2 separate regions of the Homo sapiens genome follow, and region 2 is linked to region 1. The links are contacts of gene promoters, found by promoter capture Hi-C in blood cells and fetal thymus (Javierre and others, 2016). All regions are on one chromosome and are shown on one strand. Each heading gives the region's core, a stretch centred on a gene start or on the middle of the fragment in contact. The rest is flanking DNA. Distances are from core to core; before and after follow the strand shown.

Region 1 (3,849 bases), core at 500-2,999:
TCACCTCCCCCAAGAAAGCAGTGTAAATCCTCAGTTTACACCTCAACCACTGGAAGGTCCTTGCAAGTAGGAAACTTGTCTAAGTCCATGTATATGACTAACTAAGTAGAAACCATTTGTTGAGGACTGGCTACATGCCAGGCATCCTGCTAAGTGCTTTACCTGCATTCTGTTATGCAATGCTTACAATAACCCTAAGAGACATGTATCCCCATTTTACAGATGAGGAAATTAAGGCAAACAGAGGCTCAGTAATTTTCTAAGGATCACACAGAGCTGGGTTATGAAGCCAGGTCATCTGACCTCACAGTCTACACTTAAAAATCCTTCTAATTTATAGCCTTCAGGATAAACCAACCAATCAAGAGAGCTTAAGCCAATAAAAATAGCAGACATTTCACTAAGTGTTGGGCTTGAGGCTAAGGGCTTTCATATATTTTTAGATTTAATATTTATGATGTCCTATGAGGTAGGTATCATTATGTCTTCTTCATAATGAGGAAACCAATTGTCAAACAGTGCAAGTAACATGTCCAATTATACTGCTGGTGATTGGTGGAGCCAGGATTTGTTCCCAAATTTGCCAAATGGTTATGAGCACTAGTTGCAGAATCAGACTGAGGTGCTAGTTCTGGCATTGTTACTGACCAGCTGCCGACCCTAAGGAAGTTACTTAACCTCTAGAATCATCAATTTCCTCATTTTAAGACGGGACTAATAAAATTAACCCACTGGATTATTTTGAAGATTAACAAGTGCCTGACACAGAATAAAGGGTTTTAAAATGTTAACTACTAAATGGGCTGGCTATGTGCTATTTGTCAAGAGGCAAATACTCAGCTTTTCTTGGAACCTAACCAGAGCCTGGATTGGAGTTTCTCTTCCTGCTTGGCTCCTGCATTGCCAGTTCCATCCCCATCTAAATGCCCAACTCATTCTAGTGACCCTTTACTGCATCTACATTAGGATCAACCTTGAAGGTGGGTGTGGGGAGGGTAAGCATGGGCCTCAGGCTCCCCTACATTCAGGAAGGAATTTGTCATAAGTCATTCACCTTCGATAAGGGTGACCAAGACTTATTTTCCAAGACAGGGTAGCACATAGTTCTCTTTACCTGTTGTACATATCGGCCATCATCTCCACCTCCAGCTCCGCAGCCAGCTGTTGGGCCCTGAGAGGATCCATCTCAGCCTAGCACCGTGGAAGGGATCTCCTTCTGGCCTCCTAATCCTGGGAGCAGACATCACCATCAGCACCCACCGCCGCCGTTCACTCTCCTACCCCTGGGGCTAGAGGATACAGAGGACTCACAGGGCGCCAGACCACCACGGGCCACTAACCTCAGTGAGCTTAACCACCCCATTTCACGGATGTGGAAACTGAGGCCTAGCCCAAGGTCGCACAGGACGTCTATGGCGAGCCTGGAAATCGAGCCCCGGATCTCTGATGCCCCAGTTCCTGGAGGTCACCTCTATTCAGGAGATCGAGGACCGGAGGAGAACTCTCTAACCCACGAACCTGAACCTCCAGGGCCCTGGGAATGGGATCATACGCTGAACAGAGGCGACCGGGACCCAGCCCAAAGGCTACACCTCTGAAATGGCGACGCCATCATCAGGGCCACATTGAATTCAGAGGTCATGTGTCACTTACCACTGCCTGGGACGGATCACAATGCCCACGGAGACCCCAACTTCTGACAAATACTATAACGTTACCCGCCTCCCGAGAGGCTCCAGCGGAAGCACGTGGGTTACTTCCGGGAGGAAAGTCCCGCCTCTTCTTTGATTCAAACTCGCTTCCGGAATTAAATACCAACGAGACGGCGCCGGGAACTCGGCGATCATAGAGAGGGAGCGGCTGGCGCCGGGCGAAGAGGAAGGCGACTTGCCAGTGCTAGAGAGGACACCAAAGTACCATAGAAGCTTGGGCGGGGTGCAGAGCGTCTGCAGCCCGATCAGAATTCAAGTCCTTTGGGATGTCACCGAGCGGCTTCAGTTTATTGGTTCTGTAGGAAGAGGCGTGGCGACAGACACCTGTGAACCTCACCCCCGTTCCAGACAGCCGACTCCTGTGCGCAAATCAGGCGTGGAGAAGGAAGAACGCCCCCAAACAGCGGTTCTGTTTTTGTTTCGCGTTAAAATCACCTGGAACGTTTTTAAACATCCCAGTGCCCAGGACTCACCTCATTTCAATTAAATCAGAATCTCTGGGAGTACAGTTTAAAATTCCTCAGGCAGCAATACAATTTAAAATTCCCCAGGTGATTCGTATGTACAGCCAAATTTGAGAAGCAGTGCTCCACGGGACGTTGTGCGATTACTGCTGTGTGTAGGTCACACTAAGCCCCGTCTGGGGTTGCAAAGATAAGCGAGATAGGCTTCCTGTTCGCAGAAAGACAAGACGTGTAAAATATGTTTTCTTCAACAGTTAGAGGTCCTCAGCCACAAAGAGATAATAAAAGCAATTTCGGCTGCCACCAGGGCTAATCTTGGGTGAGGGAAAGAAGGGTACTGGTGAACTTTCCAACTTTCAAGACTTAATGTGTTCTTCAAACTGCACCATTCACTCATTCCCCACTAAAAAGAAGGAAACAAGGAAACAATACTCAGTCCCTTGATTTGTCACACAATTTCCTGGTAAAATAAATTTACAAGATGTAAATTAATGACGCAAGGGCACATTGCCCATTGGAAAAGGTGGGCTAGACATTTTCTGTGTGGTCATCATAAGCTTCCCTAATTGTCCAAGACCATCCTAATTTTAAACAATTGACCTTTCTACTGCTTTGAAGACTCATCTTTGCCAAACTTGTGCCCTGATTTTTAAAGATTGGGGTATAACATTCATAAAGTGCATAAAATACACGAATGTTAAGCTTAATTAAATATATATGTATCTATATATGTACATTTGTATAACCGCCATCCAGATCAAGATATAAAATACTTCCTGCACCCCAAAAAGTTATCTTGTGTTCCTTCCCCATCAATACCCCCTCTCGAAGTTAACCACTATTCTGACCTCTATCACCATCAATTAGTTTTCCTTGTTCTTGAACTTCGTGTAAATGGAATTATACATTATTTTCTATTTTGTGCCTGACTTCTTTAGCTCAATGTACCTGTAAGATTTCCTCCATATTGTTGTGTGCATCTGTTATTCCTTCTGTTTTATTGCTGTCTAGTGTTTGATTGTATGAGTATGCCACAATTCATCTATCCATTCTCCCGTTGGTGGATGTTTGGATTGTTTCCAGTTTTTGCCTATTATGCAATAATGCTGCTATGATACTCTTGTACAGATGGACATATCTTGCCTTGGTTTTTGCCTTTGAAAATATAGTCAACATTGGCCGGGTGCAGTGGCTCACGCCTGTAATCCCAGCACTTTGGGAGGCTGAGGTGGGTGGATCACCTGAGGTCAGGAGTTCGAGACCAGCCTGGCCAACTTGGTGAAACCCCATCTCTACTAAAAATACAAAAAAGTAGCCCGGTGTGGTGACGGGTGCTTGTAATCCCAGCTACTCAAGAGGCTAAGCAGGAGGCTAAGGCAGGAGAAACACTTGAACCCGGGAGGCAGAGGTTGCAGTGAGCCAAGATCGCACCATTGCACTCCAGCCTGGGCAACAAGAGTGAAACTCCGACCCCCCACTCCCCGCAAAAAAGAAACATTATGGAAAGTTAAGAAACTGCGTGGGAAAAGGAGATGGTTTCTTACAAGAGGAATCTTGCAATATCTACTGGGCCTTATGAAAGGTTGCATACTGTATGATTTCATTTAAGTAACATTCTCAAAATCACAAAATTATAGAGATGGAGAAGAGATTTCTGATTGTCTAGTGTTAGG
Region 2 (3,849 bases), core at 732-3,231, 990 kb after region 1:
GCTGAATTATTTTAAGTAATAGCGTTAAAAAAGATTTTCCTAGGAATTTCCCTTGGATTATAGTTAGATCTATGGCAGGCAGTGGAAAATCTTGGCCCTGGAAGGCTCCTGAGCTCTTTTCTCATGGCTATGCCTCCTTGACCTGGGTGAGCTGTTTTCCATCTATGGGAAGTAGCTAACTGCATAGATTTCTGTGCCATGGAGATCGTTCACTCCTGAGTATTATTTTGTCAATATGTTGCTGTAAAGGAAGATTATGAGCTCAAACTCAAGCTCTTCTCTTAATCTCCCAGCATTTTCAATTCCATCAGCTTTCATCCTGAGCCTTAAAAAAGATTTCTAAAATCATACAAAAACAACTAAAAGCCTGCTATGGTTTCATGGTCTCCATGGAAATGCTAGGAATGGATGCTGTGTTGACTTCCTCACATATCTCTTGGACTATTTTGTTAATGCCTTTTATGTATGGTACTTGGCAGTTTACAAAGCCCTTTCTCACGTATTATCTCAGTTAATCCCCACAACAAACCCACGTGGATATTATTACCCATGTTTAACATATCATGAAACCTAAATTTGTAGAAGATAAGTGGTTTAACCAAGGTTTACAAGCGGTAAATTCACTTACAGTTTGCAAGTGGTAAACTCAACTTTTAAATTTTGGTTTGCCTGAAGCCATGGCTGCTATTCTTGCCACTATAACCAAAACAGTGTAGCCTAGAGCAGATCACTTTGATGCCCTAGTGCCCTTGCTTGTCCCTTGAAAATTCACCTCATGGGCACTTTACATTGTTGATATACAGCCTAAAAGAAAGCATCCCAGACAAGGAATTAACAAACTTTAGTTCTGTTTCTAAATCAAGTCACCTTGACCTATTCATGTAATCAACTGCTTCTTCCACAGGTAAATGGAAATAATAATCCTTGCCCACTTTCTCCCTTCTGTCATCCCCTCTACTAATACTACCTTAGATGAAATACATTAAGCTTCATAGAGCTGGGAATATTATAAAACTTTGCAAATGCATGGCTTACCACAAATTCGGTCTTGTGATTACCGGTAATGTGAAGTCCTTTGGTATGATTTTCTTCCTTTTAACCTTACCCCTCGATAACTTTACCCAACAAATGGCATTAGTTCCCCACCCCTATCTGTTGGCACTTACTGCTAGGTACACACTGCTGCTCCTACTCAAAGTGCCTGTGATTTAGAAAAAGGGCTTTCTTTGGCCTCAGAGTACATGCAGCTTGAGTACAAGGAAGACAAAGTGGGGTGTAAGGGTTGGTGGACCACCTCTTGTACTCTACAATGAATCCCAGAGGTCCTCTGAGTATTGAGTTCCAACTTCCCAAGACAGTAATCTGCTCATTAATGCACACTGATTTGGCTTCCTTGCCTTTTCTTTTTTGTTTGTTTGTTTTTTTGGGTTTTTTTTTTTTTTAGACGGAGTCTCACTCTGATGCCCAGGCTGGAGTGCAGTGGCGCTATCTTGGCTCACTGCAACCTCCTCCTCCCGGGTTCAAGCGATTCCTCTGCCTCAGCCTCCTGAGTAGCTGGGACTACAGGCTGCACACCACCACACCCGGCTAATTTTTTGTATTTTAGTAGAGACGGGGTTTCACTGTGTTGGTCAAGATGGTCTCGATCTCCTGACCTCGTGATCTGCCCACCTCGGCCTCCCTAAGTGCTGGGATTACAGGCGTAATCCCTGTAGAATATAGAAAATATCTCACTTTTGGCTCTTCTAGCTGTACATCTAGAGATTGCCTCCTAAATAGACTACTATACACAAGTCCTAGTCTCAGCATCCACTTCTAGAAAAACCCCAAATTGTGAGACAATCTAGGGTAAGTAGTAGCTTCACCAGGTAGTTTGTGTAAGGGAACTGAGTGACAATTCCCCCCACTCTGTCTTTCTTTTCCTCAGATAGTGTGTTATACGGCCCATCTTGCCTCCTTTACTGAAAGCTCTGAAAATTTCACCTTGCCCAACTCAAAAATTATCTTATATATCCTGTAACTTTCTTCCGTCCTACTTTTCCTCCATTTCAAAATTTTCAGATTATCTTAGGAAAATCTCCAAGTTCTTCATTTTATTTTTGAGCCTCCAATATTTTCTAACTCATGTCTGAAAATGCAAGAGCACCTAGAGACAGAAAGTCCTATTTTCTAAGTGTTATTGAACATAATGAAAATAACCACTTCAAACTTCCAAAGCATTGAAAAGTGTCCCTAAGGTCCCCTCTCAGAATCACTATAAATGTCTTCTTTTTCCTCCTTAACTTCATATAAACCCAATTTTCTTTAAGTAGCACCTTTCAGGATGTAATGGACTGAATGTGTCGTTCCAAAATATGTTGAAGGCCTAACCCCCAATGTGGCTGTATTTTAAGTAAAGAAGTAATTAAGATTAAACGAAATCATAAGGGTTGGGCCCTGATCTGATAAGATTGGTTTCCTTACAAGAAGAGACACCAGATCTCTTGTGGTCTCTCTCTCTCTCCCTCTTTTCACCCTGTGAGGACAAAGCAAGAAGGCAGCTATATGCAAGCCAAGAAAAGAGCCCTCAACAGAATTCAAACCTGCAGACCTTAATCTGAGACTTCTCATCTCCAGATCTATGAGAAAATAAATTTCTGTGGCTTAAGACACCCCATTTATGGTATTTTGTTTTGGCAACTGCGCAGACTAAGACACAGGATAAATGTAAATTGATTTCTCTTATAATCGTCTAATTTTTCTTCCTTTTTTGTTTGCTAGTGGGGTATCAGGATGTTTTAAAACTAGTTTTCACTATAAAGAGTATTGCAGTAATATCAAATACGTAATAGTTCTCTCTGGATTATAATTAAACAAAGTAGCATGAATACCATCATTTCCAAAACAATTTTAAATCTTAGAGGATGACAACACCCTCACAACCTTTTTCTTCCCCTTTGTAATAGTGACAGATACTGCAAAATTGGACAGGAGCAAGAAGCTTGTACTCTAAATATGCGAGCTATCCACAGGATGACTTAACCTTAAACTACAGAGTTTCACTGTGCTCTGGTGTAAAAAGCATCAAGAAGTGATCAAACACTATTTTTGTGTATTAGTTTTTCATGACGATATACAATATACGTTCTGTACCAACACTGAGTTTATTTGTTCAATGTAAACAAAAAAGAGAATTTATTTGCTCACATAATTTCCTAGTCTATGGTTAAGATGCTGCTATGGTAGAACTGAGTGGCTCAAAAAAAGAAAACACAGCCTCTCCATTACTTGGTTCTACGTTCCACTGTGCTGGCCTCTTTCTCAGACAGCCTCCCCCAAGTGATGATAAAAATATTTATCAGCAGCAATGGGTTTTTATTATCCGCACAACTAGAATTCCAACGAATGGGAATGTTCTTTCTGAATAAATCTAGTAAAGGTCATTGGCTTTGCTGAGGTCACATGTCTATCCCTGATCCAATCACCTTCCTTCAGAAGAACAAAGTACTTTTATTGGTCAGACCTGGGACTGTACCTATTTCTGAGGCTGAGGTTAAAGTCAGCCTTGCCTAAACACATGGACCAAGAATGGGAGATGCAGTTCTTTGTGGAGAAACTAGACTGTGGGGAAAAACAGCTCAGAAATTCACTCCCCTTTCATTTCACGTCCCATCCTCAATTATATCCAATAATATTATTCAACATAGCATATCAAAGTCCAAAAACATTAAAATCCAAAATCAAATTCTCTAAGTTAAAGTTTAGAGAAAGTAAAGCCTTCTTTGATTCCTTGGTCTGTTCATTTTCAGCTTTAGGAGTTTTTCCAGTAACACCTGTGATCTGAGATATCTCTCGCTAGAATGGAGGTAC

What was found. The method cuts DNA at HindIII sites, captures the fragments that hold promoters and counts their contacts. A CHiCAGO score of 5 or more calls a contact.
Region 2: a contact is called between a fragment that was not itself captured here and the fragment with the promoter of TIMM10 in region 1, in 13 of 17 cell types (total CD8 T cells, naive CD8 T cells, naive B cells and 10 more). The highest score is 27.2, in total CD8 T cells.

What each region holds. Positions count from the first base shown.
Region 1 is chr11:57,529,005-57,532,853 of GRCh38, forward strand. It overlaps TIMM10 (translocase of inner mitochondrial membrane 10), which reads right to left and starts at 1,750. Exons shown (of 3, transcript NM_012456.3): 1 at 1,654-1,750; 2 at 1,115-1,230. The coding sequence starts at 1,185. RefSeq lists an enhancer at 1,750-1,929. The HindIII fragment of the contact is 3,024 bases long and covers 1-1,923 here.
Region 2 is chr11:58,519,824-58,523,672 of GRCh38, forward strand. No RefSeq gene overlaps it. Among named protein-coding and RNA genes, the nearest start is that of OR5B21, 14 kb to the left of the region's middle. The HindIII fragment of the contact is 1,993 bases long and covers 986-2,978 here.